3 separate regions of the Homo sapiens genome follow, and all the other regions are linked to region 1. The links are contacts of gene promoters, found by promoter capture Hi-C in blood cells and fetal thymus (Javierre and others, 2016). All regions are on one chromosome and are shown on one strand. Each heading gives the region's core, a stretch centred on a gene start or on the middle of the fragment in contact. The rest is flanking DNA. Distances are from core to core; before and after follow the strand shown. Region 1 holds the start of ZNF225 (zinc finger protein 225). Region 2 overlaps ZNF283 (zinc finger protein 283). Region 3 overlaps ZNF283 (zinc finger protein 283).

The links. Contacts are between HindIII fragments. The CHiCAGO score rates a contact against its expected background, and 5 or more counts as called.
Region 2: a contact is called between a fragment that was not itself captured here and the fragment with the promoter of ZNF225 in region 1, in 16 of 17 cell types (M2 macrophages, naive CD8 T cells, non-activated CD4 T cells and 13 more). The highest score is 10.8, in M2 macrophages.
Region 3: a contact is called between a fragment that was not itself captured here and the fragment with the promoter of ZNF225 in region 1, in 14 of 17 cell types (monocytes, activated CD4 T cells, non-activated CD4 T cells and 11 more). The highest score is 10.2, in monocytes.

Annotation. Positions count from the first base shown.
Region 1 is chr19:44,111,198-44,114,792 of GRCh38, forward strand. It overlaps ZNF225 (zinc finger protein 225), which reads left to right and starts at 2,202. Exons shown (of 5, transcript NM_013362.4): 1 at 2,202-2,372. It overlaps ZNF225-AS1 (ZNF225 and ZNF224 antisense RNA 1), which reads right to left and starts at 1,986. Exons shown (of 2, transcript NR_033341.1): 1 at 1,625-1,986. RefSeq lists a silencer at 1,913-2,263 and an enhancer at 1,956-2,655. The HindIII fragment of the contact is 4,811 bases long and covers 1,405-3,595 here.
Region 2 is chr19:43,849,277-43,852,839 of GRCh38, forward strand. ZNF283 (zinc finger protein 283) reads left to right here. Exons shown (of 7, transcript NM_181845.2): 7 at 1-2,741. Among named protein-coding and RNA genes, the nearest start is that of ZNF283, 24 kb to the left of the region's middle. The HindIII fragment of the contact is 1,386 bases long and covers 671-2,056 here.
Region 3 is chr19:43,832,078-43,835,292 of GRCh38, forward strand. It overlaps ZNF283 (zinc finger protein 283), which reads left to right. Exons shown (of 7, transcript NM_181845.2): 4 at 1,428-1,549. The coding sequence starts at 1,428. Among named protein-coding and RNA genes, the nearest start is that of ZNF283, 6.4 kb to the left of the region's middle. The HindIII fragment of the contact is 7,984 bases long and covers 1-3,215 here.

The DNA.
Region 1 (3,595 bases), core at 952-3,451:
GTGGAATACACGGTTGGACGCGGTGGCTCACGCCTGTGATCCCAGCATTTTGGGAGGCCGAGGCGGGTGAATCACCTGAGGTCGGGAGTTTGAGACCAGCCTGACCAGCATGGAGAAACCCCCTCTCTACTAAAAATACAAAATTAGCCGGGCGTGGTGGCACATGCTTGTAATCCCAGCTACGCTGGAGGCTGAGGCAGGAGAATCGCTTGAACGCGGGAGGCGAAACTCCCTCTCAAAACAAAAAACAAACAAAAAACAACCAAAACTGAAAGCTGGTAATGAAACAAATACGTATACACGAACATTTGTAGCAACACTGTTCACTACAGCCAAAAGGTGAAAAGAAGCCAAATGTGCGTCAATGTATGAATGGAGAAACAAATTGTAGTATAAACATAAAATATTCATCTATGAAAAGGAATGAAGTACTGATACGTGGTATGATGTGAATAACATTAAAAATATTATGCTAAGCAAAGGGAGTTAGAAACAAAATGTTCCATTCATTTTTATGATTTGTCCAAAATAGGTAATAGAAAAGAGAGAAAGATTCATGTTTCCCCAGGAATGGGATTATGGACAACAGTAGTGATTGCTTAGTGGGCATGGGGTTTTCTTTGGGTGATAAAAATGTTTTGTAATTCAAGAGGTGGTGGTTTCACAATGAAGCAGCTACTTTGTCTGAGGTTTAAACCCGGGGTTCGTCGTTAAGCGCCAGAAAAATTTAGGACACGGACACACAAAAACTCCTCAGTTTAGGAGCGGAGGTTTAATAGGAAGAAGAGAAAGAGAAACGGGTTCCTCCATAGAGGAAGGGGTCTCCGAGCGGAAAAGGGTCGGCTGGCAGTGAATGTGCTGAGTTTTACAGACCAGTTTGAGGAGGCAGTGTCTGATTTACATAGGGGTCATAGATTGGTTCGATCAGTTATGACGTTTACATAGTGCGTGGGGAAGGCTGGTCGCCCCACCCTAATCTTCTTATGCAAATAGGCTTCCCAGTTGATTGGCCCATCTTGCCAGCTTCTTACTGTGCACGTGGCTGACAAAGAGAAGGGAAGATGGAGCCGCCATCTTTAACATGATTGGCACAACTGCTGGTATCTATGTCTGCGGCAGCTGGATTTTACAGGCTGCTCTTCCTTAGGAAGGGAAATAATTTGGGGCTGCTTTTCATTAAAAAGAAAAGCCTTACCGAGGGCTCCCATACCCTATCTGCCTAAGTGATGGCTTCTTAACTCGTATATATTAACAACACTGTATTCGTACTAGATGCCATTGCCATTGAATTATGTGCCTTAAAATAATTTTGTTTTGTGAATTACACCTCAAAAATATTTTTTAAATAATAAAACGACCACGTTAAAAACGTTTTGCATAGCGAAAAACAAGTCAAAGGAAAAAAGCTTTTTGGTTGAGCAATATTTGATACAATGTTAATATGAGTATGTAAATAATACTTAACGGAGGGGAAAAAACTAAACACTCAATAGAAATGTGGGCAAACTATTTGACCAATTCACAAAGACTATAATAGTGGCAACGGAAAATATGCACGGATGTTCCACTTTATTTACAAAAGAACAAATACAAATTAAAACTACATTTAGAAACCATTTCTTACCATTAGATTAGCAAAACTTAACTCCTCGAAGACTGTGTCTTCTCGCTTGTTCCCTTTCCAATAACACTCCTGTTATCATTGGAGGCGTTTAGACTTCAGAAATTCCTGTCTATTCAGTATTTTCTGTCCTGGACCAGGGAGAGAGAAGGACGACTCTCAGGATAACAGTTCACATTCCCCACTAGGCAGGCGCTCGTGGCTTTGGGATTCGTTCCCAGTGGGCACCTCGGAGTGGCAACGCTTCCCCCTGAAGAATGAGATTTTGAGCGTTTTTCCTTCAGCATTCGGAGGAGTGTAATCCAAATGCTCTGTGGAGTCGTACACACTGGCTCCAGAAGGAGGATACAAGCAATTCTGGGAATGGTAGTCCAGACGCTCAGTGGAGTAGCGGTCAGCTTGGCTCCGGCAGGCGAATCAGGGGATTTCTGGGAAATGTAGTCCAGACGCTCAGTGGAGTCTCGGTCAATTTGACTCCGGCAGGTGGATCCCAGGGAATTCTGGGAAGTGTAGTCCAGACGCTCGGGGTCGTCGCGGTCAGTTTGTCTCAGGAATTCTGGGAAGTGGAGTCCAGACACTCAGTGGAGTAGCGGGCCACTTCCGCTCCGTTACTGTGAGGTTGCTGCAGTTTTGTCCCTGGTAGTTTGGGTCAGTTCCGCGAGACCCTTCTGAATTTCCTGGACCTACGCATTGGATCCTTAACGAACTGGTGATCGAATTAGGGGAAAAGAAACCTCGTCGGAGAGCAGAGGTTTGGCGGAGCGGGGCCGCTGTTTTCGTTCTCGTCAGTGGAGCCTTCTTGGGCTTGGGGCTCTCCTCGCGTCCCCGGGGTGTTTGGGACTTGGTCGGGTCGCGTCTCGCCTGGTTTTAGGGTCTCCGGGGCTCTGAGCTCGCCCACTCGGCCTCCCTGCACCCCACGCGCGTGGCCACTTCCTCGCGATAAAACGCTGGGATGTTACTTAATCTCCTTGGGTCTCCCGTTACAGTTCTTTAAGATGGGGAGTTTAGGACCATCCTAATAGAATCGTTTTGGGAACTGAAAGCGGTAACACAAATGAGAGCCTTAAAGCAGCCCCTGTCACTTGGTGACTGGTGGTCTCTTGTTAATTTCCCACGAAGCCTGTCAGGTCCCCGGGTGGGGTGAAACTCCAGCTGCAGGGGCACCGGCCCTTCTCCCTGATTCCTGCAAGACGCTGGGTGATCCCGGACGCCTTCTGACCTCTCTTTTAGGAAGGCGAGGGTTGCATCCACTTCCAGGAGGGGAGAGGAGCATTTAACTTTTATGGGGCACGGCGACCACGGTCAGAGTGTTTCACAGCCTTCTCCTTACCCAGCCCGACCTTTCCAAAAGAGCTGCAGGGAGGGACTTCTTGGCTTCTGAGGGCAAAGCTCTACGTGAGTGATCCTTGGCTTTTTTCTTTGACAGAGATGCTCACCCCAACCGAGAGTGTATAGGATGTGTCTTCGGGCATGGGTGTTGCTTTCAGTTGTCATGTTTTTCTAGTCTTTAATCTTGAAAGATAGCATAGCTTTCATCGTTTTTTCTTGGTATTTTATCCTTGTTATTTTTGAAGAGTATAGATGAAGTTATTTTGGTCAAAGATGTTCATTTGGAGTTTTTCTGATGTATTTCACGTTTAACTTCAAAATATGCATTTTTTGCTGGAATACCACAGAAGTGGTAAATCTCTCTCTCTCTTTTTTTTTCTTGAGACGGAGTTTCGCTCTTGTCGCCCAGGCTGTAGTGCATGGCACGATCTCAGCTCATTGCAACATCCACCTCCTGGGTTCAAGCTATTCTCCTGCCTCAGCCTCCCAAGTAGCTGGGATTACAGGTGCCTGCCACCACATCCGGCTAATTTTTGTATTTTTAGTAGAGAAGGGATTTCACCATGTTGGCCAGGCTGGTCTCAGACTCCTGACCTCAGGTGATTCAACCGCCTTGGCCTCCCAAAGTGTGGGATTACAGGCATG
Region 2 (3,563 bases), core at 114-2,613, 260 kb before region 1:
CAATTTGACATTTCCATAACATTCTGTTTTACAAAATTATCAGTCCATAAATGATTGAGAATTGAAAACAAAGTTTGTTCTTTCCCAGAAATAATTTGAGACAAGACTCACACTTTTCAAGACATGAGACAAGTGACAATTTAAATAAGAAATTCTTCACTTGCACCTCTCTGATTAGAATAGCAGAATATTCATACTATAGCAAGATTTGGCAAATGAGGGAATCAAAATTTTCTAATGCCTGTAACAGCATAAGATAATTTATACCAGATATGTTAAATGTGCAGAAGCCTTCCAACACTATTCAGTCTTTGTTAAACTTCAGTAAGTTCATCCTAGAGAGTAACTCTGTTAATGTAACAAATGTAGGAAAACCCTTATCCATGGCAAATACCATACTGTCATCACCATTTCACCTCCATACTACCTGTAGGATGGTGAGCAAAATGCTTATCTCTTCTGGACATGATGTTTCAAATGCTGATGGTAACTAATAATGCTGTTACAGAGATTAGATGGATTTAGTATGCATCATATCCTTGGAAGAGTATCTGGTATGTAGCCTATGCTTAATACATATTAGCTATTGTTCATATTGTCTTTATTATTAGTATTACTACTGGTGAATTCTTAGGAGAGGCACAACCGTTTTGAGGAATGAATTCAGAAAAGCTTCCCATAACCACTCATCCATTTGAATTTCAGATAGTTCATTCTGGATAAGATCTAGTACAGTATAAAGAATTTGAGGGGATTTTAATTCAGAGTTTATCCCTTAAGCTGAGCTAAAAAAATGAGACTTGAAAAAATCCAGACTTTTGAAGAGTTTAGGAAAGCTGTTTTATAGAATGTCACACATTAGTTTCATTCCTCATGGTGAAATTTGATATGGGCCTCTCCTTCACATTTCTCGTAACATGAAGTTGGAAATAGAGGCTTAAACATTTTTTACCAGAACACTTCATAGATGGTGATGTGTACTTCATCTTGCAATACCTCAGAAGCAGATAGTATCCATTTCCCCCAGTATCACCAGTGCCAAGTTTGATCACTTATGGTAACTACTGGAGTTGTCTGTTATAAAGATCCATTATATACCTAATAGGATTGGTCAGCCTTGATCAATGATCTTTGGAAATGTGTGATCATATGGTATGTATTTTACTTTTTTTTTTTTTTGGGACAGGATCTCTCTTTCTGTCACCAAGGCTGGAGTGCAGTGGTGTGATTTCGGCTCACTGCAACCTGCACCTCTCGGGTTCAAGTGATTCTCGTGCCTCAGCCTCCCAAGTAGCTGGATACACAGGTGTGCACCACCATACTGGCTAATTCTTGTATTTTTAGTAGAGATGGGGTTTTGCCATGTTGGTCCAGGCTGATCTTGAACTCCTGCACCTGCCTCAGCCTCCCAAAGTGTTGGGATTACAGGTGTGAGACACTGCGCCTGGCTATATTTTACTATTTGGAAATCACAATGCATCTTAAAATTGATGGCTTCTTGCAACCACTTTCAACCAGGTGCCTGTCATGATTTAGTGCTAGCATCAAGGCAGGTTAGTTATGAAGAAATAGAGTGTGTGTTTATATACTCACACAGTTAGAAATCGACCCTTTTAAAAATTATTTCTTTTTGAAAATAATGTCAGTTCCATCAGAACTAATGCATTGATAACTAAATGTCTGTGGTTCCTTGTCATAGGTCTACACCTGACCTCTCTATTTTGTGCACATAGGGGATTCGTAATATCACTGTTCAGTCAGTCATTCACCATCTAGTGATCATCATTCTACATGATTGCACTTTTTCAAAGGCATAAAAAGCCAACAGTTGCACTCTTAATAATCAACTGTAACACAAAGCAGAGTACTTTGGGAGTTTTAACAGGATATATTATTGGTAACTGGCTATTATGCCACTCCCTCTGGGTGCCACATTTGCCTGTTAACCAAGAAATGTAGACATGGTGCCTTATCCCAACATTTCTGAAATTATATCTCAAGGAATCACCAGTGCTTACTAGTACTTGACAATGAAGGAGGATTTTACAGTTAAAGAAGCTTATAAAGTAGCATCTACTAAATCCCCTCCTAAGGAACAAGCAAAAGCACCTCACCAGCTTATCAAAAGACTAAAGAGAAGTGAAAAAAAAAAAAAGACGGCCGGGCGCGGTGGCTCATGCCTGTAATCCCAGAACTTTGGGAAGCCGAGGCGGGCGGATCACGAGGTCAGGAGATCAAGACCATCCTGGCTAACACGGTGAAACCCCGTCTCTACTAAAAATAGAAAAAATTAGCCGGGCGTGGTGGCGGGCGCCTGTGGTCCCAGCTACTCGGGGAGGCTGAGGCAGGAGAATGGCGTGAACCCGGGAGGCAGAGCTTGCAGTGAGCCGAGATTGCGCCACTGCACTCCAGCCTGGGCGACAGAGCGAGACTCCGTCTCAAAAAAATAAAAATAAAAAAAGACTAAGGAGTATTCTAGTGAAGAAAATGGTTGAACTTTGTTTAAACTGGTGTATGGCAAACTTCACTGTTGAAATACTTATTCCCATGACCTATTATCTTTGTAGGTGGGTGAAATTGCATTGGGAACTGCTGCTATAACCAAAAGAGAATTTCAGTCACCATGTCTGGTTGTTAGCTATGATGGAATGGCAGCATCATGGTCTCAGTTATGAGTGAAAATCTTTGTTGTAGCTAAGTAGTGGTGCCTCCTGAGTTTTATTAAATGCCGTTTCACTATCTTTTTCTGCACTTCTATAGTATTTAATTTGTTCATGTGATAATTTATTCTGATAGATTCACTGACTTTTTCCCATTCCTGGATATTCCAGGTTAGTCATAGTATCCTTCTGATGCATTGCTTGATTTCATTTTGCCATTTTATTTAGTATTTTTGCATCTCATGAGTGAGATTATATAATAGTTTTCTTTTTTATTGTATTTTTGTTTGTTTTGGTATTGCAATAGCCTGTTTTTTAATATTGTATGATCCTATTAGGTTATTTTGTTTGATCCTTGACCACTTTTCTAGTTCCATCTGTTGCATTTTTTTTTGTCTTTTAATTCCTACTTCAGACATAACAGATTTATTGAGTGTTAGCACAGTTCCTTTAAGGAGCCTTCATAGCCATGTAGTACTAGCCAAGATCCGCATAAAAGACGCATCCCAGCATGGCCCCTAAAATCCTTCATTATGTGCTCTTAAGAATAATGTGTTGGGAAGTCAGAACTTCCTTATAGGGCTGTTATGATCATACTTGTACATGTCTTTTGGAGCACACGTGTACACATTTCTTTCTGTATATACTGGGAGTGGAATTGCTGGGGTGTGGTCATGGATACACATCTGTTCAACTTTTTAGTAAGTTTAAATTCTTCTGAACAGTTTTCCAAACAAATGAACCGTCTTATACTCTCACCAGCAGTATATCAATGTTCTGCTTTCTCCACATCTTTGAAAATACTTGACATCATCAGTTTAAAGAATATTTTCATTACTCTCATAGGTAATATAGTGGCATTTGATTGTTGATAATTGTGGTTTAATTTTCCATTTTCTGATT
Region 3 (3,215 bases), core at 244-2,743, 280 kb before region 1:
CAGTTCTAGGTTTTATGTTAATCTTGAATATTTAGGGAGAAGAGGGAAGTACTAGTGATTCCCTTATTTGAAAACCTTCAAATATTTACAACTTCTGGGATTATAGAAATGTCATTTAAAAATGAATTACCAGGCAAAAAAGAGTTTTAGAATTAGATTATTTTAAAGGTTACCTCTACAGACAATGGCAATAATCTCCAATATACAGCCATCTTACAAAAAATACATTTTACAGATAATATTTCCAAGGACAGGTGTAAATACCAGGAGGTAGAATAAGAAGGTTCTTGTTGTAAATGTTTAAGTAAACCACCAATTTGTACAGAAGACTGAGCCTTTGGTTAAGTTCTCAGCTTTATACCTAATCAGGTTGTATTTTCTGATGCAGCTTAATGATGCTGAATCTCTATGTAACTTCTGGGAGGAAGGGGTATTTTCCTCTATATGTTTCTGAGAACCTGTTTTGCTCACATTGTTATTTAGGAAGAATAGCAGACTCAAGGTTGACCTGTGAAATTTGAGTTCACGTTATAAGAAAGCAGGTCTGAGAAAGACACATTTTACTGTGAGCAAAATAGAGTAGCCTTAAGTTTCTTTGGCATAACAGGATAAGGGACAGTAACATTCTTCATTTTCAATAATAATGATGAAAATGTGGCCAAGCCTGGTGGCTTGCACCTGTAATCCCAGCACTTTGGGAGGTCAAGGCAGGAGGATTCCTTGAGCTCAGGAGTTCGAGACCAGCCTGGACAACACAGTGAGACCCTTTCTTTACAAACAATTTTAAAGAAGAATCATTAGTCGGGCAAGGTGGCGTGCACCTGTGGTTCTAGCTACTGGGGATGGAGGCTGAGGTAGGAGGATCACTTGAGCCCAGGAGGTTGAGGCTGCAGTGAGCTGTGTTTGTGTCACTACACTCCAGCCTAGGCAACAGAGCAAGACCCTGTCTCTGAAAAAAAAAAAAAAAAAAAAAGACAACTTATAAACAATTATCATATACCATTCAGTATTTTGTATGGATTTCTTACTTACTCTTCTATGGTAGACACTGTTCTCACCCGTCTTACTGATGAGGAAACAGAGGTATTGAGAAATGGATAACTATCAAGCTCAAATTCACATCCTAAAGCTCTCACACCAGAACTTTTATCTTAATTTCAATAGAATATGCCTCCCACATTATGTTAGTTACAAACCGGCCTGCCTAAGGAATTGATCATGCATGTCTTTCTTCATCAATTAATATGAACCAACACCATCATAACTAATGAGGATATGGTGGGCCATAATTTATTAAACCTTTTGCTTACTATTACGTAGTTTCTCATTTTTGGTTACCAGAAATTATTTTTGGTTGAGTACCCTTGTGTATTCATCTTGTGTGTTTCTTTCTTCTTTACCTATTTCTTTTTTTTTTTTTTTTTCAGATGGAGTCTCGCTCTGTCGCCCAGGCTGGAGTGCAGTGGTGCGATCTTGGCTCACTGCAAGCTCCGCCTCCTGGGTTCACGCTATTCTCCTGCCTCAGCCTCCTGAGTAGCTGGGACTACAGGTGCCCGCCACCACACCCAGCTAATTTTTTTTGTAGTTTTAGTAGAGACGGGGTTTCACCATGTTAGGATGGTCTCGATCTCCTGACCTCGTGATCCACCCACCTCGGCTTCTCAAAGTGCTGGGATTACAGGCATGAGCCGCCGTGCCTGGCCCTTCTTTACCTATTTCTTAAGGATACATTTCTAGAAGTGAAGTTTTGGGTAAAGAATTTGCCCCAAATGCCTGACCCTGTGATACTTGTACTTAGCGGGTAATACAGTGTTTGGAAGACATAGTTGTTACCTTGGAGACCAAATATGCCTTGGGGTAAGCATAAGGCAGCCAGCAGTCAGCAACAAAGGCCAGTAGGCAATCCAGGGGACCTGCTTTAGGAACTCATAGGAAGGCAGTTATAAGCAATACCGTTGAACCATGATCAAGCATTTGGAGGCAAATGGAATTTATTCTGTAAGGTTTATACTTTATAGTTTTTATTCTACTAATGTTGGTTGCAAAGTGAGCCTAATAGGATCAGGTGATTCAGTTATCTGGATTCAGTTATCTGGAGAGTACCATGTCTAAGACAGGTTCAGATACAAAATAAATCCATCAGTCAAGATAAGAAAAGTAGAATCAAAACCTCATTAATGGAAGGGGAACAAAAAAATAAATAAAACCTCCCCTCAAAAAATGAAAAAAAAGGATGAAATTCCTCAACTTAGGCCATGAATATATTAATATCATTTCATTAATATTATTCCATTAGTATTATTCCATTAATATATACATGGCATAACTTGGGGAATTTCATCCTTTTTTTTTCTAGGCAAGACATAGGCATATGTAGAAATTATACAGTTCATGTAATGTATGGCCATGGTTACAATGATTGTGTGGATTACCTAAACAGAAAACATTATGATCATAATGAAAAGATAAATGTTATTAATATATATAGATATATAATTTTATTTTTTATTTTTTATTTTATTTATTTATTTTTTTCGAGATGGAGTCTTGCTCTGTCACCCAGGCTGGAGTGCAGCAGCGCGATCTCGGCTCACTGCCAGCTCTGCCTCCCGGGTTCACGCCATTCTCCTGCCTCAGCCTCCTGAGTAGCTGGGACTACAGGCGCCTGCCACCACGCCTGGCTAATTTTTTGTATTTTTGTAGAGACGGGGTTTCACCGTGTTAGCCAGGATGGTCTCGATCTCCTGACCTCATAATCCACCCACCTCAGCCTCCCAAAGTGCTGGGATCATAGGCCTGAGCCACCTCACCTGGCCTGTTTCTTTCTTGAGATGTATAACTTTCTAAACATTTTTTCATCTATTGATGTGATTGTCAGTCTTTCTGTATTGATATATATGTATTTTATAAATGTAATCATAAGTCTCATAACCTCCTTTTTCTATTGAGTATATCTTGATTATTTCCCTAAGTTAGCATGTACTCATTGCATGATGTTCTGCGTCATGAATATTCTGATATATGCATTAGAAAGTCAGCTTTTTGGGTTCCTGATGAATTCCTTATACAGCCTGTCCAGCTCCCATGTTTTGACCAACTTCCTTCAGTCCTGAGCCCATGAAGGACGTTCTAGCTTGGACCATGACAGGTATTCCTGAGAGGTAGGAATGGAAGGAGGATGATCTGATTTCCTGGGCAGGACTGAATTGTCGAAT